Regions from separate parts of the Homo sapiens genome. Here all the other regions are linked to region 7. The links are contacts of gene promoters, found by promoter capture Hi-C in blood cells and fetal thymus (Javierre and others, 2016). All regions are on one chromosome and are shown on one strand. The core of a region is centred on a gene start or on the middle of the fragment in contact, and the rest is flanking DNA. Distances in the headings are between cores, read along the strand shown.

Evidence for each region. The method cuts DNA at HindIII sites, captures the fragments that hold promoters and counts their contacts. A CHiCAGO score of 5 or more calls a contact.
Region 1: a fragment that was not itself captured here is called in contact with the fragment with the promoter of ADAMTS8 in region 7 in 16 of 17 cell types (M2 macrophages, endothelial precursors, M1 macrophages and 13 more); the score reaches 36.4 in M2 macrophages.
Region 2: a contact is called between a fragment that was not itself captured here and the fragment with the promoter of ADAMTS8 in region 7, in 2 of 17 cell types (naive CD8 T cells and naive B cells). The highest score is 5.6, in naive CD8 T cells.
Region 3: a fragment that was not itself captured here is called in contact with the fragment with the promoter of ADAMTS8 in region 7 in 16 of 17 cell types (naive CD8 T cells, naive B cells, fetal thymus and 13 more); the score reaches 22.8 in naive CD8 T cells.
Region 4: a contact is called between a fragment that was not itself captured here and the fragment with the promoter of ADAMTS8 in region 7, in 5 of 17 cell types (M1 macrophages, M0 macrophages, endothelial precursors and 2 more). The highest score is 14.3, in M1 macrophages.
Region 5: a contact is called between a fragment that was not itself captured here and the fragment with the promoter of ADAMTS8 in region 7, in 3 of 17 cell types (M2 macrophages, M1 macrophages and endothelial precursors). The highest score is 7.4, in M2 macrophages.
Region 6: a contact is called between a fragment that was not itself captured here and the fragment with the promoter of ADAMTS8 in region 7, in 3 of 17 cell types (M2 macrophages, endothelial precursors and M1 macrophages). The highest score is 5.3, in M2 macrophages.

Annotation. Positions count from the first base shown.
Region 1 is chr11:130,839,414-130,842,113 of GRCh38, forward strand. No RefSeq gene overlaps it. Among named protein-coding and RNA genes, the nearest start is that of LINC02551, 21 kb to the right of the region's middle. The HindIII fragment of the contact is 800 bases long and covers 1,009-1,808 here.
Region 2 is chr11:130,933,860-130,936,559 of GRCh38, forward strand. No RefSeq gene overlaps it. Among named protein-coding and RNA genes, the nearest start is that of SNX19, 19 kb to the left of the region's middle. The HindIII fragment of the contact is 3,143 bases long and covers 1-2,700 here.
Region 3 is chr11:130,881,379-130,884,078 of GRCh38, forward strand. The region is part of intron 8 of SNX19 (sorting nexin 19); the gene reads right to left. Among named protein-coding and RNA genes, the nearest start is that of LINC02551, 21 kb to the left of the region's middle. The HindIII fragment of the contact is 3,697 bases long and covers 1-2,700 here.
Region 4 is chr11:130,818,938-130,821,637 of GRCh38, forward strand. No RefSeq gene overlaps it. Among named protein-coding and RNA genes, the nearest start is that of LINC02551, 42 kb to the right of the region's middle. The HindIII fragment of the contact is 2,213 bases long and covers 281-2,493 here.
Region 5 is chr11:130,790,252-130,792,951 of GRCh38, forward strand. It overlaps the pseudogene PPP1R10P1. Among named protein-coding and RNA genes, the nearest start is that of LINC02551, 71 kb to the right of the region's middle. The HindIII fragment of the contact is 5,949 bases long and covers 1-2,700 here.
Region 6 is chr11:130,688,677-130,691,376 of GRCh38, forward strand. The region is part of intron 1 of LINC02873 (long intergenic non-protein coding RNA 2873); the gene reads left to right. Among named protein-coding and RNA genes, the nearest start is that of LINC02873, 17 kb to the left of the region's middle. The HindIII fragment of the contact is 1,138 bases long and covers 792-1,929 here.
Region 7 is chr11:130,427,308-130,430,007 of GRCh38, forward strand. It overlaps ADAMTS8 (ADAM metallopeptidase with thrombospondin type 1 motif 8), which reads right to left and starts at 1,302. Exons shown (of 9, transcript NM_007037.6): 1 at 260-1,302. The coding sequence starts at 979. The HindIII fragment of the contact is 10,262 bases long and covers 1-2,700 here.

The DNA of each region.
Region 1 (2,700 bases), core at 159-2,658, 410 kb after region 7:
GGTTTCCCTTGGGGAAATTAACTCCTTCTCTGATTTTCCTCTGAGCTGCACATGTACCTGGACCTGTCTCTGAGGTATTACACTGCAGGTGGGGCAGTAGTGGAGTCTGCCACTGGTCAAGGGTGTGTGGGAGCTGGCTAAAGTGATACTCCGTGGCAACTGGGGATGCTGATGTGTGTTGGGAAGAGTCAAGATGTCCATAGAATGGCAGTCAGGTGACAGCCTCATAAGTATAGATGAGGTGCTCTACCAAACAGAACTCAACAGTGTAAATGTAGAATCTCATCTTTTCTTTTTCTCCTATTTCCCTTCTCTACTTTTTCCTTGTCAAATTTCATCTATTTATAAAGAATAGTCACGCCATAATAATATAGAACTGAATTCCATGCTTTTCCAAGCCACTGCAGTTACACAAGTTGGCCCCCCACCACCTTGTTTTCTTAGCTTCCCAGTGGTTATTAACCAGAGATATATATTTCAATCCCACAGAGCAGTCCTTAGTATATTCTTGGGCTTTTCAGGGTAACCTTCTATATGTTGAGGAAGCAAGAACTCAAGGTTTTCCAAAAAGCTGTGGGTCCAAGTGGTTAATCTGCACTGGTTTGCATTAGTTTACGTGTGGGAAATGCAACACAAAGGAAGTGCCCAGCAACCCTGCACATAACGTGCAACCATTCATTCTGACTCTTTTCCCTGAGGATTTCTCTTGGCTGAACAGCAAGCTCTCTGGGCTCTGCAACTAGAGAACATCTCTAACATAACATAAACGTTGGGCAGCTGCTGGGAGCTGGAGAGGGCTCAGTCTGAACAGCTGTGTGAGGTTTGACCTTGGGGAAAACAACACCAAATCCCACCACCATAGGCTGGTTTCCATTTGGACTTAGTGCAAATGAGGCATAATAACAATTAAGCAGATATACTTGGAAGGGAAGGAAATTAAAAAGGCATTTTATGTGGGGTAAGAAGAGTGGGTAAAGAGAAGAAATTTCATGGATGATAGCTGAGGGAAGCTTTTCTGGAACTGATAGAGGTAAAAACTATTATGGGTTGTTAGCTGTATGAGAGTAGGAACTTTCACTTTTCCTTTATGTGATTCTGTACTGTTTAAGTACACTTGCTTATTACAAACATGCCCAATTTTCTAACCCATCCCCCTAGAACACAGAGAGACCCTGCAATTGTAGAAGTGTAGACATGTGAAAGGAGAGGGGTTGAGGGGTGAAGCTGTGTTTTAAGACAGCCACAGGCACTGATTAGACAGACTGGGATGCTTCTTTGAGTGGGATACTCACTGGTAAACATCTTGGCTAAAAGATGTCCTGGGAAAGATTATATGAGGACTTGGGGCTTTAAATCTTGGGAGAAGACTTTTGTAAGATCACTTGAAATTCCCTAGGAATTGCTTACAGCGCTATCATAAAAGGAACAAAAAAATCCATGTGAAAATATTAATCATAGGAGGCTGGAAAGGCAAAGACATTTGTGGCTGTGGACAATTTCAAATAAATTTTGTTGCCTTCCTTAAACAATGCCAGCTGTGTGCCTGCTTTCTCAAACCAAGATGAACTGTAAGAGAAGAAAGGGGAGGAAAAGTCCCTCCCGCATACAGACTTCAAGTGTGTCTGAATTAAGGCGGCTAAATTCTATTATTTTCATGTTCCTCAAATCACTATTGCAGGGTGGAGCTCATAAAGGCATAATAAATGTTTGTTCAACTAAATATTTCAATGACCCAAACTCTATGTGGATTAAGAAAATTAAAATTATGTTCAATTTTCCTATTGAATTTGAAGGCTGAGACTTTACTAAGCTTTCCCATTGTGTTTTTAAGTGGTTTCTTAAACAAGTTGACCCAAAGGCTTGGGTCATTCAACGAATGTGTTTGCTTCATGGCATAGCTTAGCGTGAGCTTTGCTGTCAGATGTGAGTTCTGGCTCCACCATTTACTAGTTATTCGACTGGGAAAATGGTTTAGCCTATGTAAAAGCTAAGTTTCTTCAGTTATAAAGTGGGTTTAATAACTGTACCTAATCTATGGAAGTTTGGTGATTAAGTGAGATAATACTTATAGAATACCTACCTCAGTATTTTTCACAGAGAAAGCAATGAACGTGAGTTGTAGTTGGTCATCAATATCCTCCTCCTCTTCTCCTTCATTATCTAGAAGAGGGGTGGGTAAACTAGGGCCCACTGCTAGTTTTTGTAAATAAGTTTTATTGGAACACAGCCATGTCCATTTGTTTATGTATTTTCTACAGTGGCTTTCATTCTACAGGGCAGAGTTGAGTAGTTGTGATAGAGACCATATGACCCGCAAAGCCTAAAATATTTACTATCTGGTCCTTTACAGAAAAAGTCTGCTGATCCTTATTCTAGAAGGAAGAAAATCTAGGGATGTGTTTGTGCGTTTCCTGAGCTTAAATTACCAGGAACTCATAGCTTTGATTAGAAGAAACTAGATGAAGGGTTTGAATAAACCCTTAAAGCATGAAACATTATGTTTTCTTCATAGATTTAAAAAATATGCCTAGAGGCAGAGATGCTCACATGCTAAGACAGACATGGGGAATCTTTAAACCTAAACATTTTACCTGAAGAGAAAGAACAGTTAGAATCTTTCGGCTTAATAGAAAAGTCACAGAAGCAAGCAGAGAAATCCTAATGAGTTAGAGGACAATCATTTCCAAGGATTTTGAGTGT
Region 2 (2,700 bases), core at 84-2,583, 510 kb after region 7:
CTGGCAAATTCTTTTTTAGCTCATGTTCTTGCATTCTCAACACACTTGAAAGTCATTTTTGATAACTACAAGCAAAAAAGGGGAAGAGAACTGGGTAGGTCAAAGGCCTCCAGGAGATGGAGGATGTAAGTATGTATGTACATACATACATAATATTATATATATAATATTACTGTCCTGTTTTATATATGTATATATATTACTATCCTGTTTATATATATAAAATATTACTGTCCTGTCATATATATAACATATATAAACATGTTTTTATATATACACATATATAAACATATATGTTTTATTATATATATGAAACAGGACAGTAATATTATATATAAAATATTACTTTTATAAAAACAAATATATAAAATACCTATAAATATATAAAATTGATGTGTGTGTGTGTGTGTATATGTATCTGAGACAGAATCTCACTCTGTCATCCGGGATGGAGTGCAGTGGTGGTATCACAGCTCACTGCAACCTCCACCTGCTGGCCTCAAGTGATCCTCCCTCCCATCTCAGCCTCTTGAGTAGTTGAGACTAAAGAAGTCGATAAATATTTTTACATATAAATTATCTGTCTACCTGTCTAGAGATTTATTGAAGGAAATATGTCACAGAGTTTTGGGGCTGGCAAGTTTGAAATCTGTAGGGCAGGCCTTAGGTAGGAGTTGATGCTGCAGTCTTGAGGCAGAATTTCTTCTTCTCCAGAAAACCTTTCAAAGTTCTTAAGGTCTTTCAAGACTGTGGATGAGATGCAACTGCATTTTCAAGGGTAGTCTCCTTTATCTAAAGTCAGTTGATTGTAGATGCTAACTGCATCTACAAAATACCTTCACAGCGACACCTAGATTAGTGTTTGATTAAATAACTGAGTGCTATAACCTAGCCAAATTGATGCATAAAACTAACCATAGCATCATTAAATACTTTTTCTACATCTATTGAGATAATCATATGGTCTGTTGATATGGTGAATTACATTGATTAATGTTGCAGTGCAAGCCCCACCTTGGATTCTTGGGATAAGGCTCCTTCAGTCACAATGTATTATCCTTTTTTAATATATTACTAGATTTAATTGGCCACAATTTAAATAATTTTCTTTCATTTGTGTTTATGAGGGATGGCTATAACCTCATTATGTGTGTGTGTGTATATACCTCATCTTGTGTATACACACACAGACACACACACACACACACACACACGTTCCTTGACTTAAGATACGGGGTTATGTTCCAATAAAACCATAATAAATTGAAAATATGAAGTCAAAAGTGTATTTTTTTTTTGAGACAGAATCTCGCTCTGTCACCCAGGCTGGAGTGCAGTGGCGTGATCTCGGCTCACTGCAAGCGCTGCCTCCCAGGTTCACACTATTCTCCTGCCTCAGCCTCCCCAGTAGCTGGGACTACAGGGGCCCACCACCACATCTGGCTAATTTTTTGTATTTTTAGTAGAGACGGGGTTTCACTGTGTTAGCCAGGATGGTCTCGATCTCCTGACCTTGTGATCCACCCACCTCGGCCTCCCAAAGTGCTGGGATTACAGGCGTGAGCCACTGCACCCGGCCTCAAAAGTATATTTTCAATGTGATGTTTTCAGGTTATGGTTGGTTTATCTGGACATAACCCCATCATAAATTGGCACCATTTTAAAGTAAAAAAATGGTAAGTTGAATCATTGTAAGTTGAAGACCAATTGTATATATGTGTGTGTGTGTGTGTGTGTGTGTGTGTGTGTTTTATTTTTTTTTCTTGTAATGTCTTTTGTTTGGAAATCAGAGTAATGCTATCCTTATAGAATGAGTTGAGAAGAAGTCCCTCATTTTCAATTTTGTGCCATTATTCTCTTGGGTGCCCTGCTCCAAAATTGCCTAATGGTGCTCCTTTCAAATTGTGTTCCAGCTTTTTTTCTTGATTAGTGTTAGAATGTTATGCAGTGTTCCATGTATTTACTCTTAACACATTTGTGTTAATATATCTAAAGTGGGTTTTCATAGGTAGTTTATAGTTAGTTCTTGCTTTTTTAAATCAAATATGTCAACCTCTGCCTTTTAATTAGGATGTTTAAACCACTAACATTTATTATAATCATATATGATGATTTTAAATCTGCCATCTTGCTATTTATTTTTCATTTTTTCCATCTATGCTTTGTTTTCTGTTTCATTTTCTTGGATTGTGAGCATTTTAACTATACCAGATTGTCTCCTGTGTTGCTTCATTTGCTATAATTTATTAGTGTAGTTTTAGAGTTTATAGTATATATATTTAACTAAATAACATCTCCTATCATGTAATGTCATACCACTTTACATAGAGTTTAAGAGAATTATAACAGTATCTATGGATTTCTCTATTTTTGGCTGTTGTTATATTGTCGTTCTACATTTAATGTCAGCATATCTTCTGAGCCCTAGAATATATTTATTATTATTTTCTGCTTTAAAGAGATTCAAATAATAAAAATAGATTTTATATTTATCCATGTGGTTGCCATGTCTAGAGGCTCTTAATTTCTTTGTGTGGATCCACATTTCTTTCTGATATAATTTTCTTTCTGCCTAAAGGACTTCCTGAATGTTTTTTATAGCTCAGCTCTGTTGGAAATAAAAACTTTTACCTTTTGTATGCCTGAAAAAGTCTTTACCTGTGAAATATATATTTTCTGTCTGTAGAATTCTAGGTTGAA
Region 3 (2,700 bases), core at 48-2,547, 450 kb after region 7:
GAAGTTTTACAGAACAGAACACTAAAAGGGCCTCCGTCTCTGGGTGAGCCTGCACCTATACCTTCCCAACTCTCCTCTGGCAAGGCTGCACCTATTATCTTTCTAGCTCTCCTCTGATGGGAAGCATTATAACCTTCTTGGTAACATGTACACACAGACTTCACAGCTACGGACTTAGCGATCTTTAAACAAATTCCTCTCTCTACCTCCCCAGCCATATCTTCTGGTCCTCATGACTGTCTTAGGGATTTCCTACATCTGCCCTTTGTTCATAATAGTTCTCTCACTAACAAGGGCCTCTTCTCGCCTTGCCTGAAGAGCAAGTCTCAAGTCTGCCCTTCTGGCAAGACCTGTTTCAACCCTACTTCCTCCATGAAATCCTTGACCATCACAGCTGGAAGTGCTCTCCTTCTCCATAGACCTCCTTTGGCAGGTAGCTCTGGAACAATTACTTTGGAATATGCATCTTTTTAAAGGTGTTTATAGCTTTACTTCTTCAACTAAATTATAAGCTGTAAGAGTTCTGTGTCTTGTACTTTAAAAAAACTCCCCGCCGTGCTTGGTGCTCAAGAAATGGTTGACTGACTGATAACTGTTCTTATTTCAATGAAAAATTTTCCCTTTGTCTTACTTTCGAAAATGAGTCAAAATTTTCCCTTTATCTTACTTTCAAAAATGAGTCAAAAATGAGGGGGAAGATATACCAAATCTGGAGTTCAGCTGGAAACCTAGAAAGTGGTTCAACGTTATTCTTGATCTGTTCCTGAATTTTTTTCAAAGTGATATGGTCAGAAGTGAGGTTCAAGGCTGTTGAGGCCTCCCCTTCACCCACCTCATTTAAGACTGACATAGCTGTGTGGGTCATGGATGGACAATCAACCACTTCTATTCATGCACGGAAGACTCGTTTGATCCTGCACCACATGGCAGCTCATGCCATCACTCCTCGCTCCTATACTCGAGTCACTTGTCACTCATCCAAGAGCAGAGGGGGCTGCCAAGGCAAACTTTATTTAACCTCCACTCTGCCAGACAGTCTGCATTCCACTCAAGCTGGGCATTCCAGCCATGAGGGCTGCAATCCCCCAAGCCCAAGGCTCACAACTGATTCTAAGAATAGGAAGTGTGTAAGGTAATAGCAGGGCAAGAATGGCAGCCATCGATGGAGATCAAGAGTGGCACAAAGCTGTTCTTGTCCAAAATAGCCAACACGATCGTATTTGTTATTATTAGGGCCGCATCTCCTTTTTATAGGGCTTTTCATTCAGTGAGCCTAAGATGCCTGATGAAAGGAATCCAGTAGCAAGAATTCCTGTTCCTGTTTATGTAAGAGGGTCACTAGAGGGAGGTGGCTGCAATGACCTGATCGGCTTCTCTGCAGGGGATTAAGTGACCCAAGGTCTCCTTTCTTCACCTCAAGCCATGTATACTTCTGCAATTTTTGCTGAGGAGAATGATGTGTCTTAGGGTCTCATCTAACTGTCTTGAGGGAGAGGGGCAAAGTCTTGCAAACTAAAATCTTTAGCCACATGATCCTTCCTAGACTGAACATGTTGTAACATGCCAGCAAGCCTAGGTACCTCAGCCATCTTCTGGCATGTCTTACAAAGCAAGAGTTACATTCTTTTGAATGAACATTAATTTATCTGATGGGGACAGGACCTCACATGGCATTAGGACAAGGATATCCTCCTTGTTCTCTTGCATGGTGATTAAGTGTCTCATGTACATGTGTGGGATGCAAAATGAATTTTATCATGTGGCAAAATATAAATTTATAAACTTATACAAATCTATAAGACAGCTTTTCAGACTCTAAATGGAAATGTTGGGGAGAGACATAAAAGTAGGAAAAGTAAAAATAAGCACCTGATGATGAAGATGAGTCTATGAGTCAAATAAATTTGTGGAAGCTAATAAGCACAACTCACCGAAGAAAAGGAGTGCCATCTCTGAGTAAGTATCAGCTGCTGATGAGACAAAGACACTGTCAAGCACTGTACATACAAGGCACAGAACTGGCCAACAGGAGGCCCTGGAAAAAGTCAGGCCCAGGAATATAAGAAACAGGACTTTCACAAACTGGCAGAAATAAACTCCCTCCAGGCCTACAAAGAGGGACAGAGTTTGGAAAGTGACTTCTAGTCCCTGGGAGCTGCAGAGTGCCAGCTTTCCTTATTCTTCTCCACACTCTGAAGATAAAAGACACAAACCACACACTTGCACCACGCATGGTTTAAACATTTGCTCTCTTTCCTGGATTCTCCTCTTGCCTACGTTCTGCCCACCCTTCCCCCTGTCAGCAAACAGAGGCTTTATCCTAGGCCTTTGGGCTCAGCATGGTCTTATTTCCTAGTCCCAGGCAGCCTGTGTAGAAGACCAAGTGCAACAAATCTTTCTTGTTCACAGAACTTCTGAGCGATGGTGTCTCGTTAAAAATGATGAGCACGCCAATCTGGAAGGAAAACATGATAAAGAGCAAACCAAAAAAATCACCACCACAACTGCCACTGCCCTCACACAATACAATCTCTAAATTTTTTAAGCTGTAATTCAATTTCTAAGACACACTTTATTATCACTCACTATGCCTTTCTTAAGTTGTAAATGGCTGTATATTCAGGGATTTGGTATACTTTGCCTTGCCCAACACCTGGATGGAACCAACTGCCACTGGTTCTTGAGAGCAATGAAGAAGGT
Region 4 (2,700 bases), core at 137-2,636, 390 kb after region 7:
AATCCATTGCCAAATCCAAGGTTATTAAAATTTACCCCTATGTTTTTTTTTAAGGGTTCATGGTTTTTACTCTTTTAAAAAAATTCAACTTTTATTTTAGATACAGGGGGTGCATGTGCAGGTTTGTTACATGGGTATATTGTACCCAGGTAGTGAGCATAGTAGTAATAGGTAGCATTACCCCTCGGCTATCTTGCCTCTGCGGGTTTTCTCTCCATGTATGGGAAATCTGCCACATGTCCCAGCCCTAGCCATCTTTCAAGCCCCTTCCTTTCTGTAAAGCTTTCTCTGATCCTGACATATTGAAAAAAAAAAAAAAAAAAAAAAAAAAAAAAAAAAAAAAAAAGAAGGCTATACCTATACATCTTTCTCATTCCTCTGAGGTCTCTTTGCATGTGACATTGCATCTCTCCCCACCAAAACATAGACTCTATTTCTCTATGCTTTGAATCTCGGGCTTGACCATGTGGCTTGTTTTGGCCAATGGCCGATATTGTTACATGGGTATATTGTACCCAGGTAGTGAGCAATAGGTAGCTTTAGAAAATACTGTTGAGGGTAAGACTCGACTGCATTCATGGGGCCTGAATTCTGCTGAAGTATATTTCATAAGAAATCAGGCTGTGGTGCCTAACTCATACATATGCAAGTGGTGATAGGACGCTGCTGCGTGGGTGTTTCTCACAAGGAGCAATGTCGAGGGGATCCAAGACAGGCGCATGAACGTTTCTAGATGAAACTCAGGACACTGCCAGTCCCAGTGGCTTTCTCTCTAAGGATGAACTCATACCCAGGGAAGACTGGAATCAGCCTTCAACAAGTGGTGCCTTGTGGTTGATGTGTCTGCTTCCAATAAGGCAAGTTTTACAGTCTGTCAGTGGGCTGACTGCAGAGTTATAAATGTTGATCTCATAAAAAAGAAACATGAGTGGTTGACACATCACATTGTATCTGTGTCGTTCTGTGCTCTGGCAGCTAGACCAGCTCTCACTTACAGCAACGGAGGCGACATAAAAGCAGAATAATCAGATTTTAATTATAATGGGGATTTCTCCATCCCATGGGGCTCTGGAGGGCAGGACTATTGTGTGACTTCTGGTTTCCAGGGAAATATATTTTCCTGTGCCACTGCTGAGATGCACTTTGTAAATGCTCCCCAAAGAAATACTGCAGAATGGGATGGCTTCTGGCTTTTAATAACCAGAGTGAGAACTGATAAAATATTTGAAAGAAATGATAACTGAAGAAATACATAGACTTCAAAATAACACTTTTAAGCTCTCAAGACTTTACCAAATCAAAGCATTTGTCTGCAAATATGATGGCTTCAGTCTCCACTTTATGGTATGTCTAATTGCTAGAAGAGGTAGAGAAAGAACAGCTCATCTTAAGAACAACTCCTCCCCTGAATGCCCACTACATTTGAGGCTCTGCCTCACTTTGCTTCCTGGCAAGATATACTTCCATCCATGGTCTCCCTGTCCTTTTCAAGACTTTATTCCAGCCATTGTTCTACCCAGGGATGCAAGGGAGAGAATCTCCCATCTCTGATGCGGGGAACTCTACATAACCTGATGAAGGGGACAGAACCATTCATCACCTGGTGCAGGAGACAGGACTGTCCATCATCTGAAACAGGGACAGAATCACCCTTCACATGAAATGCAACACAATCATCCACCACTAGATGCAGAGGACAGAACCACCTATCAATCACCTGATGCAGGGGGCAGAATCACCAATCATCTGATGCAGGGGGCAGACCCATCTATCACCTGATGCAGGGACAAGGCCATTCAAAACCTGAGGAGAAAGAGAATTACCCTTAAATCTCAGCCTGGATGGGGAAATCCTTAGGATCTGAGGCTGCTCCAGGGACCTATCTTCTCTCTGTGTCTGCTTCTCTCTTTTCATCTGCTCCTTCTCTGCTCTCTGCCAGCTGACCTCCTCACCCTCAGCTCCCACATGTCCAGTTTGAACAGGGTTTTGGATGCCCTGTTTGTCACTGAACCTCAATGTGCCCTTCACCTTCACCTCTGCTGTTCATGCCTCCATCTCCCAGATTCCTCTTCCCAGCTTATCTCTCTCAGCTCAGCTTTTCAGGACAGGCCATAGTAGGTCTTTGGAAGCCTGTAGACTGGCTACCGTAGGTCCTTTGACTGTTGAGTCAGTGGTGGTGGCACTGCAGAAACAGGAGGAAACAGGCACAGCTGCAGGTGGAGCATGTTCTCTTGGGAGGGCTGTGCCCCTAAAGTGGAGGTCAACCTCTTAGAAGGCCATTGGAGACCATCCAAGTTCTTAAAGACAACACTCCATCTCCTCCATGATTGTGTTCCAACTTACTTTCCCAACCTTCCACTAGCCCAGAGGAAGCATTTGCTGGGCCTTGCAAACCCCTCAGCTATCTTGCCTCTGCGGGCTTTCTCTCCATGTATGGGAAATCTGTCACATGTCCCAGCTCTAGCCATCTTTCAAGCCCCTTCCTTTCTGTAAAGCTTTCTCTGATCATGACTTACTGAAAAAAAAAAAGAAAGAAAAAAAAAGAAGGCTATACCTATACATTTTTCTCATTCCTCTGAGGTCTCTTTGCATGTGATATGGCATCTCTCCCCACCAAAAGGTAGACTCTATTTTTCTATGTTTTGAATCTTGGGCTTGACCATGTGGCTTGTTTTGGCCAATGGACATTAGCAAAGGGGA
Region 5 (2,700 bases), core at 180-2,679, 360 kb after region 7:
GGGTATGGGTTCATAGGGGTCAGGATCAGTTCATGAGGACTCACCTTGTCCAGGAAGAGCTTCTGAAAAATTCCTTCCTCCCACCTCAGGTTACATGTTTCACTCCTGGCTGTTGCTTCCTGAAGTGACAAGAGGTGACGAGAGCAGACCCAGGGACTAGGGGCACATTCAGGGCACCTTTACCTTTATGTTGTCATGACTCAGACACTGGCCCATTTCAAATGCAGGTTGGTCTGACAGTGTCTCTCAGACCCCTAGCCAAACTCCTTGATCTTATTCACATTTCTTTGTTTGGATCCATCTACTTCAAAATATAAATATTCTCTCAGTTTGTTCCTGCCATGTCACAATTGCCTTCTTCCAGTTTTTATTAATCCGTTGGCTAGGATCTTCAGGATTCTCTACTGGCTTAGCATCCAGAGCCCCTGACACCAAAGAAGCTACACCCATGAGCTCTGAGACTTCAACAGGGAGTAATGGGGTCCCTTGACAGTCTTTGTCTGCAGCCTCAGAAGGAGGTGCTGATCCTGGGAAAGAAATTTTGGCTGTGCTTGGTTCTATGCATGCTTTTCCTTCGACGGGGCTTGACTTGGCAACTGGGAGTGACAGCACCTTCTTAATTTTGAGTTTGCAGATTAGTTCTTCTGCTTAAGTCTGCTGTTGAGGCTCTCTATCACATTTTTCATTTCATTCATTGTATTGCTGAGCTCCAGAATTTCTGTTTAGTTCTTTTCTATTATTTCTCTTTGGTGAAGTTTTCATTTTGTTCATGCATTTTTTTTTTCTGATTTTGTTGAGTTGTCTATCTGTGTTCTCTTTTAGCTTGCTGAATTTCTTTGAAAACATTTATCTTAAATCCTTTGTCAGGCAATTTGTAGATTTCTATTTCTTTGGAATTTGTAACTGAAAATTATTGTATTCCTTTCATGGTATTATGTTTTCTTGATTTTTGTGTTCCTTGTAGTCTTGCATCTGTCTGTGCATTTGAAGGAGCAGTCACCTGTCCTAGACTTTATAGACTGGCTTTGGTGGGAAAAGACATTCTTCTGTGGATGGGTGTGAAGGCACGAGCTGCGTGAAGCATGGCAGCTCTGGTTCAGGGGGTGGTTGTAGGGTCACCTCCTGCTTTGAGGGGTGTGATAGCATAGACTCTGGTCAACTTCATCAGCTAAGATTGGTGTCAGTGAGGCCAAGGCTGTAGGTATTTTAGTGGTGGTGAGGGCTGCTTGAGTACTCAATCATGAAGGGTGCTGTGGTCCTCCTATTCTCTTTCCCCCTCTAGGGGGAAGTCATGGCTGAGGGGATATCTCTTGGTTCCAAGGTCAGGGCATGTGTGCGGTGGTGCTGGGGTTAGGGGGTGGATTCAGCCCTGGGAACATGGGGTAGGGGGCAGTGGCACCTCATTCCCTGGAGGGGGAGTAGTGGTATGGACTCTGGGCAAATCCATCAGCTGGTTTCACTGTCAGCAAAGAATGCAGAGATCCTTGGTGGCAAAAACTGTGGGTGTGGGCTGGGCACGGTGGCTCACGCCTGTAATCCCAGCACTTTGGGAGGCTGAGGTGGGCAGATCATGGGGTCAGGAGTTTGAGACCAGCCTGGCCAACATAGTGAAACTCTGTCTCTACTAAAAAAACTACAAAAATTAGCCAGGCATGGTGGCACGAGCCTGTAGTCCCAGCTACTCGGGAGGCTGAGGCAGGAGAATCACTTGAACCTGGGAGGCAGAGGTTGCAGTGACCCGAGATTGCTTCACTGCACTCCAGCCTGGCAGCAGAGCGAGACTCCGTCTCAAAAAAAAAAAAAAAAGCTGTGGGTGTCCACAGTGGTGGTGAGGGCTTCTGGGGTCCTTGTTGGGGAAGGCTGCTGGGCTCCTCTTGCTCTTCTTTTCCCTCATGGGGAAGGTCATGACTGAAGGAATCTCTTTTGGTGCTGAGCTGTGTTGAACTGGGGGATGAGATGATATAAGTAAAATGTTTTCTATGCTTTTTGATGTGGCCACGCTCAGTTTTATTTTTTTTTATTTGATTTGATTTTATTTTTTTTTGATGGGGTCTTGCACTATCACCCGGGCTGCCATGATCTCAGCTCACTGCAACCTCCACCTCCCAGGTTGAAGCGATTCTCCTGCCTCAGCCTCCCGAGTAGCTGGGACTACAGGCACCAGCCACCACGCCCAGCTAATTTTTGTATATTTAGTAGAGACGGGGTTTCACCATGTTGGCCAGGATGGTCTCAAACTCCTGACCTCGTGATTTGCCTGCCTTGGCCTCCCAAAGTGGTGGGATTACAGGCGTGAGCCACCACACCCGGCCCACGCTCAGTTTTTGTACTCCAGTGGTTTGCTGTGGCTTTTTTGTTGTTATATTCCAGAGCTCTCTTAGAGATATTTTAGTGAGTAGGTAGTTGTTTAATCATCATTTTTATGGGGGCAATAGAATTGGGACCTTCTACTCTGCCATGTTTCTGACATCATTTTTAGATGTCCTCTTTTGACCCATGAATTACTTGGAAGTCATTTTTACATTTCCAAGTATTTGGAGGTTTTTCCTGTTGCCTTGTATTGTTGGTTTCTAGTTAGTTCCATTATGATCTGAGAACATTCTTTGTATGATTTCAGTTCTTTCCAATTTGTTATTTTAAATTTATAATCCAGAATAGTGCCTGTCCTGGTGAGTGTTTTATGGCACTTGAAAATCAATA
Region 6 (2,700 bases), core at 111-2,610, 260 kb after region 7:
ATGTACAAGACACTGACTATTCATTGACCAAGTCCAACACATTGGCTTCAAAGACACTACTGCTTGGGGATATTGAGACAAGTGAATACTAATATAGGAAGTCAGTGTCAATCTGGGAATGCATTAGAGGTGTTACATGTAGAATTTAGCAAGGAGTTAGTCTGAGTATGCCTTATTGTATCTTTGGCAATAAGATGAAAAGTTTAGAGTGTAGTTAATGAATTTATAATGGTCAAACACCACAGCCAAGAAGAATAAAAATTCCTATTACCATGAGTAGGCTAATTCTTATGGGTATATTTTGATCAATGAACAGTGGAAGCACTGTTGGACTTCAGGCCAGTAGTAAGTGAAGGTGCCTCCCTGTGTGTATGTGTGGCGGATCTCTCCAGATGGAATGAATCTCAGTGTGTTTTGGGTGTGGGGATATGAGAACGTCTTGGATATGCAGGAGTTATTATGTAGTCATAGGTGAATTATTAGGTGCTTACTTTCATGATTTTCACTTTCAAATAAGAAAATTGAGGCTTAGAAAAATGAAGTAACTCTCCCGCAACTGCCACCCCAGTACAGGTCTGTCTGACTTGACCCCAGTGCTCTGAACTGAAGTTAAGGCAGTCTGAGTGCTTAGCCAGACATATTTCTGGAGCTTTTCTCCAAAAAGCTTGGCAAGTTTTGTGTTGTGCTTTAGTAAGGGAGGTATTCTCTTGTTCTTTTATGTGCTGATTAATGCTTTAGAGTCATTCCAAAGGGAGGCCTCCAGGGATATAGGACTTCCTGTGTTACCCACAAGCTTGATACGTATATCTTATATGTCTTCATATAATTAGCTGATAAAAATGTTGAATAAGAGATGGCCAGAACTGAGTAGTATTTCAAAATAACCTCAAAAGACTGGAATTAAGGGCCAAAATCAATAAGATGAAATTCAACTGGTAAAATGTCAAGTCCCGACTTGGTTTAAAGAAAAAATCAGTTTACATAAGTATCATGTGGTAAAGACCTGGTTTGAAATTTGGTTGACTGCACACTTAAGATAAACCCACATTGTGAAATAATGAAGAAAATAGAGCTTGAATTCTTAGGTTGCATTACAAGCAGTAGTGACAAGAGCAGGTGAAATGGCAGACCCATTGTACATGGGGCTAGTACCCCATCTAAAAATTATATTCGAGTCTATATAGAGAGAGGCATTGCCAGCCAGATTCTGGTCAAAGGGAGAGGGATGGTGACTGTTGAAAAAATCATGAAAAATAAGGAATAATTCGGGAAACTTGAGGTAGTTATAGAAGGGTCTGAATAAGAGAAGCCTTGAGGGTAGATAAATCACATATTTTCTCTTGGAGCTCACCAGAAATTCTGAATATCTCCCTAGCCAGCAGGCATAGGTGTGGAGAATCATGAGGAAAAGAGAAAGGAAATGGTAGAGGAAAAGGAAAGGGGGCTATCTCAGTCCATCTGTCCCTTTCTAAACCCACACATCATGCTGCCATTTAACTATGTATGTCTTGGGGCAGTGAGGCCTTCACATCCTGGAGTCCCAGTTGGAAATGGGGCTCAAGCTCCTTTTGCTTTCAGCTTCCCACTCGGTCCATCCACCGCCAGTATTCTTTTGCCTGCCCCACCCTGAGGCCAAGACTTGGGTAGGCATTGGTCTCCTGACAGAAAGAACCCATGGAGCAAACTGTCCAGATGCCTGTGTGGTCTGCGCATTAAGGTATTTTGTAATTCTCTATGATCCAAGCTGACCACATATGGTTTCTGATACTTACAGGGAGTGTTCAGAATTTAGAGAGTATCTTTCTTCTTTCAACAAAGTCTGTTGTCCAGCTGAGAACCCAAGAAAGTTATCTTTGATGCTCATTGCATCTTTGTTCTAGTAGATAGATACTTGCCTCTCTTCAAAAGCAATTGGTTCTATAGGTGGGAAGCTTAAGAGAACAATCATTTAAGGAAAATAAAAAATGCATTGGTTTAAATATTATTCCTAAATAATAAAGGTGGTAGGTAATGTAAGGTGGGGAAAGAGAGTGGTCTTGGAACTGAGGAACACTAGACCAAAGTGAAGTGTTGCAACTGAGCTCACATCTTAGAATTTTTAATAAAGAGTTGATAAATTAATGAATAAGGGACAAGATTTTTCTAGAATCAATACATTTGTTCCAAAGATCAGAAATTTTTTATGTGGGCCCCCAGTTAAAGTCAAATGCTGGAAAACAGGAAGTACTTGATAAATGTCTGTTGCAGACAGAATATATTTAAGAACAGAACTATTTAAAATAATTTCAACTTTTGTTTTAGATTCAGAGGGTACATGTGCAGGTTTGTTGCAAGGGGATATTGCGTGGCACTGAGGTCTGGGGTACAAATGATCCCATCACCCAGGTAGTGAGCACAGTAACCAAAAGTCACTTTCTTTTTCTTTTTTTTTTTTTTGTGACGGAGTCTTGCCCAGGCTGGAGTGCAGTGGCGCAATCTTGGCTCACTGCAAACTCCGCCTCCCGGGTTCACGCCATTCTCCTGTCTCAGCCTCCTCAGTAGCTGGGATTACAGGTGCCCGCCAACACACCTGGCTAATTTTTTTGTATTTTTTAGTAGAGACGGGGTTTCACCGTGTTAGCCAGGATGGTCTCGATCTCCCGACTTCATGATCCGCCCGCCTCGGCCTCCCAAAGTGCTGGGATTACAGGCGTGAGCCAC
Region 7 (2,700 bases), core at 52-2,551:
CAGCCCCACTCTAAACTGGAAGGGACCTGGGGGTGGGGGCGCAGGGATCCAGGGTGGCAGAAGTTCAGAAAAGAGTTACTGCTCTTTCTCAGACAGGAGAGAATCTCGTTTGGGGTAAGGCTGGAGAAGATGAGTGGGGAGGGCTTTTTTTTTTTTTTTTTTTTTTTCTCAGAGGGATTGGAAGGGGAGATTTTAGAGACGCTGGGAGGCGTCTGGGGGGCCTCCGGGCACGGCGGCTGGAGGAGGCTCTCAGTCCTACCTGCAGGTCGGCCCCGTAGAAGGCAGCCATGGACGCATCGGCCACCAGCAGCGTCTCCACGAAGCGCGCCTCAGACACAAACCGCTTGGTCCTACTCGTGGCCCCCAGGGGCGGTGGCGGCTCGCTAGCGCCTTCTGCCTCCTCTTCTTGGCTCTCCTCCTCGCTGTCCTCCTGGTGGTCTCCTCTCTCCTGCCTCTGACCCTCTCCCGTCTCCACCTCCCACTCGGGTCCTCGCGGGAGGGGGCGGGCTCCGGCGGGACCCCAGCGCTGCAGGCGGTGCGGCTGAGCCAGGGAGCCCCCCGCGCCCTGCGGCTGGATGGTGAACTCCTCGCCGTCCAGCAGGAAGGAGCCGCTCAGCCCGCGGCACAGGCTGACCGCCGCCAGCGACTCGGGCTCCCCATTCACGGTGCCGGAGAAGAAGCAGCCGCGCAGCCCCCGCTCGCCCCCGGTCGCCCGGCCGGAGCCCCCGAGGCGCTCGATCTTGAACTCGGGCGCTAGGAAGCTGTCGTCGGGCGCCAGGCGCAGCACGAAGCCCTTGCCGAAGGCGGACAGGTGGAGCGCGAGCTCGCCCGCGCTGCCGGGCAACCGCGTGGGCACCACCAGCTCCGAGGCCTGCCCCCCGGCTGCGGGCCGGGCCGGGGCGCCGCGGGCCAGCGGCAGCAGCAGCAGCAGCAGCAGCAGGAGCGGAGGCCACCGGGGGGCGGCGGGGGCGGGGAGCATGGGGGCTGCGGCGGTGGCTGCGCGCAGGAGAGGGAAGAAGCCCGCCAGGCGCGGGCAGGTGCTGGCGGCCCGAGCGCGGCCCGGCCGCTCTCTCCAGGAAAAGCGGAATCAATCGGGTGCAAGGCCGACTCGGCCCGCGGGGCCCGGCGGCGGGAGCGCTCCCCCGGCGGCCCCTCTGGCTGGCGCAGCCCGCTCCTCCCGCGCCGCCGCCCCCGAGCCGAGCGCGAGCAGCTGGCCCCGGCCCGCGTGCGCCCGTCCTCCGCCCCTGCCCGCGCCAGCCCCGCGCAGCCGCCTCCTGCCTCCTCCCCACCCCGGGAAGCACCGAGTGGGCTGCCGAGCCCTTCTTATTTATACTTCCTTCCCGGCTTGACATAAGAGGTTTATTTTTGATCTCTCACTATTCCCGTTTCCCCTCCCCTGGGATCAGAGAGAGAAACTGAAAAGAGGGAGAGAGAGTGGAGAAAAAAAAATTGGGATGAAATGCAAAACCAATCAGGCAGCGAGACCCGTCCGCCACCCGCCCCCCTGAAGTGTCAACTACAACTTCTTTCCTTTCCCTCTACGCGTGGACCCACGTTAACCCCTACCATGCTGGACTGACCCTTTAGAAAGAGTCCCTGGGAGACCCCAACCGCTTTCTCCTCTGCGGCCAAGAGTCCAGGATGCATCTTCCGAAGAGGCTCGTGCACTGGTCTCAGCGACCCTGTTCGGATCCCTGCAGAGTCCGACTGCAGAGCCCGACACTGTTGGGATCCCTGCAGATGCCTCCGGAGATCCGACTGTGTGGGGAGAAGGTTCCTGAGCTTTTCATTGTAAAGCATAAAGGGAGAGGAGGAAAAGGTCATGCTAAAATCATGCCCTCCTCTCATCACTACTGCACAGCCTTCCTAACTTTCACTCCAAACTGAAGATGGGGAAAACAAAAACAAAACAAAAAACAACCCACCTGGTTAACCCTAAGAGGGACTCTCACTGTCCTGTTAGAGGGCAGGTGGGGCAGAGGCCAGCACAGTGGTAAGTTACCAGCACTGAGGTTGGAAGTTAGCATTTCCCCAAGAGGGAAACAGACCTCCAGTCCCTGAAAAAGGTCTTCTCTTCTGGATACTGCTAGTTGCCCGGGACTTCAAGTAAGGTGGCAGGCCCTTTCACTGCGTTGCCACAGCCCCAGGAACAAATGTGTATGAGGTGAATTTATTCTGTCCCATGTCACCACTGCCCCCTAGGGAAGGGGGTAGTATTCAGGAAGAGAGGGATGACATGGTCTCAAGACCACAAAACTGCATCCCATCCCAGTCTCAATGACACAGGTCTGGATTGGGTGGAGGGCCCTGTTCTCTACCTACAAACTCTAGACTCATCCACCAACTGTGCCTTTCTCTGAGTTGTCAATGTGGGTGATGCATTAGGAACCGCTGGGATCAGGGCCTTTAAATCCTTTGCCAATTCACCTGCCCCCAGGTACCCAGCTCTGTGCTTATGCTGGGGATGTTGACAGTCGAGGTCATCGCTGATTCTTTTCAGCCCATCTGACCCCTTCCTGCAGTGTGGTGGTTCAGCATGCATCTGAGACTCTCAGGGCTTGTTACCTCCAAAGAGGAGGCTCTTGCCCAGGGGAAAGTGCTGCCAAATTCCCTCTAAGTATCCCCCCTCTCTTTGCTTTCTCAGAAACACAGAGGGACAGCTGTGAATTAGATGAAAGGATGAACTTCCCAACCTAGCAT